Linked DNA regions of Homo sapiens: region 2 is linked to region 1. Evidence: promoter capture Hi-C in human tissues and cell types (Jung and others, 2019). All regions are on one chromosome and are shown on one strand. Each heading gives the region's core, a stretch centred on a gene start or on the middle of the fragment in contact. The rest is flanking DNA. Distances are from core to core; before and after follow the strand shown. Region 1 holds the start of ALX3 (ALX homeobox 3). Region 2 has its middle 4.5 kb from the start of SLC6A17.

Evidence for each region. Contacts are between HindIII fragments. The study calls those that stand out against the background at their distance.
Region 2: a contact is called between a fragment that was not itself captured here and the fragment with the promoter of ALX3 in region 1, in 2 of the 25 tissues and cell types used here (mesendoderm cells and thymus).

What each region holds. Positions count from the first base shown.
Region 1 is chr1:110,068,938-110,073,001 of GRCh38, forward strand. It overlaps ALX3 (ALX homeobox 3), which reads right to left and starts at 1,735. Exons shown (of 4, transcript NM_006492.3): 1 at 1,399-1,735. The coding sequence starts at 1,675. The HindIII fragment of the contact is 7,804 bases long and covers 1-4,064 here.
Region 2 is chr1:110,143,817-110,148,142 of GRCh38, forward strand. No RefSeq gene overlaps it. Among named protein-coding and RNA genes, the nearest start is that of SLC6A17, 4.5 kb to the right of the region's middle. The HindIII fragment of the contact is 4,500 bases long and covers 1-4,193 here.

The DNA of each region.
Region 1 (4,064 bases), core at 485-2,984:
CGGTGTGGTCCGGGGGCCCGAGCTGTCGGTGCCGGATGCGGCGCGCCTAGCAGGGACGCGGGCCTGGGGGGGTGGCTCCTGCCCGACGCGGAGCGCTGAGCCAGGCCGGGTACCTGTCTCTGGCGGTGCTCACCGCACTGCGCGGCCTCTGCCGTCTGGCTGGGATCAGAGGAGCCAGGCCAACTGCTTCTCATTAAGTCCCAACTGTGGTTTTTATCAGGAAAGCCTCTTTCAAAGGGCACAGACACGAAGCTCCGCGGACTCGTTCATTTCCTCCGTTGACCCACACACACCTCCCCGCCCTCCCCTACACATTCCCACCGCCCCGGCTGGGCGAAAGCCGGAGATGCCCGGCCACTCCGTGGAGGCCCGCGAGGCGCCAGCCGGGCGGCGGCAGGGGGTTGAGGCGGATCTTGGAGGATCCAGTTCTGGGCCTAGGCTGCGGGATATGGCAGCGCAGATAAGGTGGGTGCAGTGCGGAAGCCGAGACGCCTTACAGGTCATAGGGTGCGGCGGACGGCCGCAGAGCTGCCGATCAGCCTGCCAGGCCCCTGCCTTCAGGCGCATTCTCGGATGCCGGCGCGGTCCAGCCGGCCTTAGCACAGGGCACCGGCCCGTGAGCCCGCGGCGCCAGGGGGTTAGGCTGCCCAGGGCTGCTCCTGACTGCCCAGCGGTGATGATCCAGCGCGGGGAAGCCAAGACTGCCAGAAGGGCGGCTATCATAGTGCATAACGGCAGGGAGGCCAGCTTAGTATGAGAAATAAGAATACAGTTATTCCGTCTTGAGGACAGCCCTGGCATTGCACGACCAGTCGCGGCCAGACTGTGCCAGTCTGCCGCACAGGCAGCACCCTTCCTGTGAAGGCTAGGCCCGGGGAGGAGAGACGGGCCAAGACCAGGCCGCAGTCCCCAGCCGACCCCGATTTGACCACTCTAGGTTGAGGCCCAGCCTCAGGGCCCTCAAAGGGCGCCAGACACAAAAGCCGCGCTTCTTCGTCAGGTCTCAGTGTGGCTCCACAGCCCTCGGCCGGGTCTGGGCTTCAGGGTAGGTGGCAGTTCCAGTCCAACTTCGGCAGAGCATGCTCTCTCCTTCCCAGGTCCAACTGCTTTCGGGCCCCGACTGGACTCCGGGCCGTCGCCACTGCACCTTCCCTCGACCTCCCGCCTTCCATTCCCGCCGCCGAGGAACGGTGGTTCACCCTCCCGCCCCACACTGGCCTTTGCCTGGCCCGGGCCAGCGCCAACCCGGCTTCCGTGGAAGCCGTGGCGAAAGGCGAGAGGGGCAAAAAGTTGAGAAATAGGCGAGCGGGAGAGATAAGCAGGAAGGCCCGGGTGGGCCCGGGTAAGGAAGAAGAAGAGAGGGTCGGGCTGCGCGCTACGCCCCGCGCCGCGCGTTACCTTCCGCGGGGCCCTCGTAGAAGTGGCCGCCGTTGAGGGCCGGGCCGGGCCCGAGGTCCTGCAGGTACTTGGCGGGCGGCTTGGCCGGCTCTGGGAGGTAGGGCTCCAGGGGCCCGCAGGCCGGAAAGCGGGTCAGCCGCGGGCCGCGGGGCGGCGCGGGGTGCAGGTGAGGCGCAGCGGCGGGGGTTCCCTGCGGGCCCGGAGGCTCGTCCCCCGAGGCCACATAGGGGCCGGGTGCAGGCCCCACGCGGAAAGGCGCGCAGTGCTCGGGGTCCATGCCGGCTCAGGGCGCACAGGCCTCCGGGGCTCCGGGGCTCGCGCTGCCCGCGCCGCCTGTGAGCGCCCGCCAAGGGGGAGGGACCTGGGCGCGGGGGCGCGGAGCCCCCGGGAGCGGCGCGCGCCGCGGGGGGCGGGGGGCGGGGGGCAGGGGAGGGGGCCGCGCCTCTGACTTAATGCTGGAACCATCCACGTCACGTGTGGCCCCGTGCGGGTTAACCCCTCGGAGCCCGGGAACCCCCTCCCCCCATTCACCCAGAGCCCAGTCCCAGGCAGCTCAGGAGAGGATGAAGCAGCTTCCTCTCTAGGGCAGGATCCCTTTGTCTACCCATCCAGGTGAGTCTCTTGCTCAGAGCAGCACCCGTGGTCCTGATATCCAGCCTAGAGGCACTTGCCCCTAGAGGGGTGAGGCCGTGTGGGCATCCCCCCCAAACACTTTTGGGCCTGGACTCTGGACATCAGCCTGGGATGAGGGCCTGGGCGGGCAGACAGGCAGGCCTTAGGCTGCAGTTTTACTTAGGTCTCCGCTAGGAGCTGGACAAAATGTTGCCTCAGCAAAAAACACCTCCCTTAGAGATCTCTTGTTTCTCACAGTGAAAGGAGCTATTGGGAGTGTTGTGTGGAAGCAGATCTAAGCTGGGAATGGGGTGCTGGGGAGCTTGGACCTGGACACTATCATTAATTAGCTATGGTTCCTTGCGCCAATCATTAGTGTCCTCATCTGACTGTGGAGGTCGGGCCAAGCCAACCCTGGGTCTTTCTATGTATTTGAGGTGTGTTTCAGAAGTAGAGACAGGGCCAGAGCAGACAGGGAGACTCCCATGGGCAGCTCAGGACTGAACAGTGTCCTGCAGGGGCAGCCTTTGGAACAGGTGGAGGATGAGCAGAAGGGCTGGTGTTTCCTCTGGCAGCAGCTTGGAGTGAATGCGTTTCAGTGGGCAGATGACCCAAGTGTCTGGGGACCCACTGGAGAGACTGTCTGCAGCTCGGACCTCAGGGCTGTGCTCCCCCAGGCCTGACGATTCAGAAGGGATGAGGGTAGAACTGCATCTTCTAAGAGCTGAGTCTCCCCAACCAAAAGGAGACAGGATTAGAGCAGTAGCTTAGAATTTCAGAAAAGAGAAATAACCACCACCCTACCTAAGATCTGGGGAGAAATACCCAAGGACCCGAGGACCCTGCTCACTTCCCATGGATTGAGGAGCCCGTGGGGCTGCGTTAAACTGTTTTTATTATCAATGCCCCCGGAGACTAGCAAGAGAGGTGGGGAGTCAAACATCATTTGTATTTCATTTGAATTCTCAATTTTTAAAGGAATCCAAGAGGCCTGGTGTGAACACCTCCCTCTTCCGCTGGGGGCTTAGAAGGGGTTTCTTGGCTCCTCAGCCAGAGTTGGGCTGTAAATCAAGACCAAACAGGAACCAGAAGCCTTGCATCTCACAAGGAGTCATTAAGCCGTTATTAAACATACCATAACTTCTCTGAAGACTTATTGGTTTCAACACCACCTTGGAGGCATTATGGCCATTAGGGCCCCTAATCACGGAATGCAGACTGGCCAGAGAGATGGGAGCACCTGGGGCTGGTATTTCTAGTCAAGAGGGAGGCTCGGCTTGAAATTAAGCTTCCCTTCTGGCCTCACCAGAGGGATCCTTTCTCCAGGATCTAGTGGATCCAGCTCTGGGCAACCAATTTGAACCGATCACCTTTGCCCATTAATAAGGTTTTTCAATAGTTGTTGATTGGATATTGTTTTCTTTTCTCTCTTCCCCATACCTGCGAAATTGGATATTGTTGACTTTCTAGGAGGACATCAATTTAGGATACCTATTCTATTCAACAGTTATCAAGAAGTTTACTATGGAGGATGAAAATATCACCCAGGAAAATGTCACCAACAATTTAAACAAGGCAGCCTGGATCAAAGGCTGAGTCTTCTGCCTCCCATGACAACCTTGCTGAGCCTCAGTTTCCTCATCAGAAAGGTGGGCCACACATGGAAGTAGGGTATTTGCAAAGCATTCGTGTTTTGATGCACTGTGTTAATTTAATAGATGCTGATGATGATGGTGATTACCATCTCCAGTGGGTTCCATCACTGAATAGGTGAAAGGCTCCTGACTTCAGAGTGAATGGGCCTAAGGCTGGAGCTGAGCAGAGAGACACAGGGACCTGCATCCACTTTCAAGCCCAGAAATTTCTCTTGACATTCTCCCACTCTCTGAACAGAGCCAATTTCCATACTGGGATGGTGTTACCAATTAAACTGAGGAGAGAGAAAACCCTAGATTACATGAGAGTTTTGTGGGTAAGTGGAGTTGACCTTCCTGGGAGAGTTTTCTTCCAGAACCACACAAATCAGCACACGGGGAGGAGACTTTTCCACTTGT
Region 2 (4,326 bases), core at 694-3,193, 75 kb after region 1:
TCTCCTCATTTTCCAACCCAGGATGGCAAATGTGCTTCATTTCTTCTGCTGACTCCAACTGATTGGTGATGTAATGAGGCCAAGTAGGGTCTCAATGGGAAATCAAACCAAAATGTATTAGGGATGGTGGCCATGGGCAAGGAAAGGGAATGAAGGAAACTGAAGTGTCATGGATGTGGGTTAGCCCTGTAGAAGCATGGAGCTCATGTTCCAGGTCCCAGTTTCTACTTCCCCCAGGGAATGACACTGGCATTTGCCTCTTCCTTCAGGTAGAATGCCACCTACCCACACGGATCAGCTTTCTTCTCAGAGGCCACAAGAGGATAACCATATCTCAAGGCACCACACAGCCGAGCATTCATTCTACAGATACATTTATACGGTAACGATGGTGGCTGGGGACTTTCTTATCAGCTGTGTTTGAGATTTTGAATGCTAATTTGGTGAGGTTTACTCATCCTCTTTGCTGATCTAACACAATCTAGGAGGATGGGGTTCTTATGATGGCTATGGGAAGAGGCCCCTCTTACTGCTTACTGGGTGAGGGAAATCTCAAAGGTGTGGAGGAGCAGGTGGATAAGTGGTCCCCGGTCATCTTGCTACTTCCACACTTATTCAATGATTACATGGCTGTTCTGGTTATTTATTGCTGCATAACAACTCGTCCTACAGTGTAGTGGCTTAAAACAACAGTCATTTTTTCTCCCTTGTGGTTTCTGTGGGTCAGGCGTTTAGGAAGGACTGAGGGGCAGTGGTTCTGCTTCATGCAGTGTCAGCTGTGAGGCTTGGCTGGAGGCTGGAGGAGCTGCTTCCAAGATAACTCACTCACATGGCTGGCAGGTTGGGGATGGTTGTAGGTCAGGAGCTCAGCCAGGGCTGTGGGCTGAGGGCCTCAGTTTCTCTCCCATGGGCCTCTCCATAGGCTGCTTGGGCTTCCTCACAGAATGGTAGGTGGATTCCAAGAGCAAGCATACCAAGACAGAGATAATGGAAGCTACTGTGTTCTTATGGTCTGTGTCCAGAAACAAACATGATATTAATTATCTTGTTTACATAGTCTCAGAGCATAGATTCAAAGGGAGGGAATATAGACTTCACTTCTTGAAGACAGCATTGTCAAAGAATTTTGAGGCCATGTTTTAAAACACACACAGTGAGGAAACTCTAATAATTGTGCCACCAAGAACAAAGGAGAGGGTGTATCTCAGCAGCTGTATGTTTAAGACACTCAGAAACACAAACACGACTTAGGTGAATTGCAATTTGGGTTGTTTCCATGTCCTGGGAAAAGGCCAATATGTTCTCCTACATCTTCCTACTTAACATATTTGGGAATAGTATCTTTGAGGCTATGTAGCAGGAGATGAACATTAGGAACATCACTTCAATGCCTTTCTTTTCAGGAAAGCAGGCTTGAGTGGATGGGGGATAGCTGGGAAGGAAAGGTTAGCCAGTACACGTGTCTCCTCTTTCAAGGAGGACTAGTGCTGGGATGAGTGGATTAGGTCATCGTGTTGGATCCACCATGTTTGACAGGGTTGCCCAGTGTGTAAGCTTTGACTGAGCACCTACTGTATGTAAGTCACTGTGCTGGGGCTGTACGGCATGAAGCTATGAAGAAGAAAAGATCCCTCCCCTGTAAGGAATCACACTCTAATTTGAGAGGAAGGCATAGACACATGAAGGCAGACTTATGTTATAAAGCCCTAAAGGTCGGGATTGAGAACAAGGACTTTAGACCCAGGATGCATCTCACTGTATGGCTTGGACAGATTATTTAACCACACTAAGCCTTGATTTTCCCTTTAGTGAAATGGGAATTTGAATAATACTGACCTTATAATATTACACTGTATAAGTTTATGTATTTCCATATGCCATAGAAAAGGAAGAATTTGTTTTCTAGATGCTCAGAGGAGAGTTGGCCACTGACAGCTGGAGTGTTCAGGAAGATTTCATGGTGGAGGCCTTTCTTCCCATTTCCATCTCAGCCCCTTCCTGTGGCTTCAGGCCCACCTCCCCATGAGTGCTGTCATCGAGGACACCTCTCAGGCTTCATCTTTTTAACTTTGCTGCAGATTTCAACACTGTGAACTACCTTTCCTTCTTACAATTCTCTTTCTTTTGTGATACATGTCATCTTCTCAGCTCTTGACTCTTCTCTGTCTTCTTTCCTGCCCCTCCTGCTCCTCAGAAATAAGCATGTCCTGCCAAGCCTCTATCCTCATGACCATCTTCTGTGTGCTTCCTCAAGAGAGTCTCGCCTTCCCCCAAACCCTTTATGGTTATGACTTCCAAGTGTGTGTCTCCTGCCCTCTTTCCTGGACTTTCTACTCATATTTCTAACCACACCTTAGGTATTCTTTCATCAACTATTTTTTTTCACATTGTTTTTCTTTTTATTTAAACAAGGTTGAACTTACAAATCAAAGCAATATGGGAGTGATTTTAGACTAGCAATATTATTTTTAGTTATTCAGATTTCATCAACTATTTATGGACAGTCTACTGTGTGTTAAAGTTGGGCATGGCCTCTGTCCTGTGGAGCTTCCACATCAACCAAGGAGACTGTCCCTAAGCAACCAGTCATGCCCTCAGTACTTAATTACAATTGTGACAAGGGCTAAAAAGGAGAAGAAAAGTCCAGCTGGGAGGTTGACCCAGTTCTTCTCCATGGTCAGGAGAGGGTCCAGTTCATGGTGAACTCTGTTGGACGAGTGGGCAGGCAGTGAGGGAAGAGAACAAGGGGGACTGAGCAGATCCCTGTCAGGGCTTATGGGCTAAAGTCTGAGTCAGGAAGGAGTGGGGGGGGTAGGAAGAGCTGAAAGAAGGGTGGTGTATTACAGGGAAGTCCATGGGGGGAAGGGTGTGAGATGAGGCTGGAGACAGGGAAGGTCCCTGAAAGACATGCTAAAGATGTGGGTGCAACTCTGCAAGCTTAAAAAGGTTGTGATTATATTTGTACTTCTAAAAGATCACTCTTGCTGCTATGTGGAGAGAAGGGAGTAAGACTGGAGTTAGTGTCAAGAGGGGACTGTGAGTCCAGGTGAGTGATTATTATAGTTTGGAATAGGCAGTTGGGGGCGGGAGGTGGTGGCAGCAGAATTAAAGAGAAACGACCAGATCCCAGAGGTATGTAGCAACTAAGATCTCCAGGATTTACTGATAGATTTTATGAAAGGGGAAGTCTCAAGGGTGATTATTGGGGTTTTGGCTGGCTCAACTATTCACAGAGCCAGGGAGCACAGGAGGAGAAGCAAGAAGCCAACTGCTGAATGTTCTGCAGGGTAGATCTTTGAATGTTGAGTTCATTTCTTCAACATGTGTAGCTCTGTGGAGCCAAGTGGAAAGGTGGAGTTGGAGGGTGAATATGTGGAGCTCAGAAGACTGTCTGGAATGGAGACAGACATGCAGAAGTCATCAGTGTAGGAGATGGTCTAGGAAGGGTACAGAGTGAGAAGAGGGTTTGGCTGCGAGACGTCCAACACTTAAAGATCAGCAACGGAAACTGAGGGGTGAGCAGAAGGCTAGGAGGAAAACCTGGGAGCGCAGAATTCCAGAAGGGGAGGGAAGAGAGTGTCAGAAGGAAGGAGAGGGCACCCACAATAAGCATTACAGAAAGGTCAGTAAGATGAGGACTGGAAGATGTCCTGTGGATTTAGTGACACAGAAGTCACTGGTGACCTTAGTGAGACCCTTCTTGGCAGCATGATGGGGCAGAAGTGTGTTAAGGAGTGTGTAGGGGTGAGGAAATGGAGGCAGAAAATGAAGAAATGAGGGATGAGAGCCTAGTGACATTTTTTTTTGAGATGGACTCTAGTGACATTTTAAAGGAAGATATTTGCATATGCTCTCGAGCTGCTAAAAAGCATCCAGAGAAAGGGAAAGTTAATGAGACAGACAGGAGAGACTGGATTAACTAATGGGTAGCTGAGGTTCTCAAGAAGGTGTGGGGCCATGGGACCCAGGGGACAGGTGGAGGCTGGTCTACAGAGGAGAGACTCTCCCTACCATATCCAGGGAAGAGGGAGAAGAGGGTATGTGCAGATGGAAACGGTTTAATTCTCGTTGGAAAACCGAGGGGTCTTCCAAATGAAGTAAGGCAGTTCCTGAGACAGCAGGGAAGTATGACGTGGGGGGAAAGTAGGATGAGTGTTTGGGGAGAGTTCTGGTTGGAATGGCCTTGATCAGAGTGGGGAAGTAAGTTGACCAGAGAATTACAGGGAAGTCCTTAGGAAGTGTGAGGAGCCCACTTGAAGTTGGTGGCCATGAAGGCAGACAGAGACTGGTCTGTGGTGTGTTTCTGTCTAGAGAACTTGGCACAAA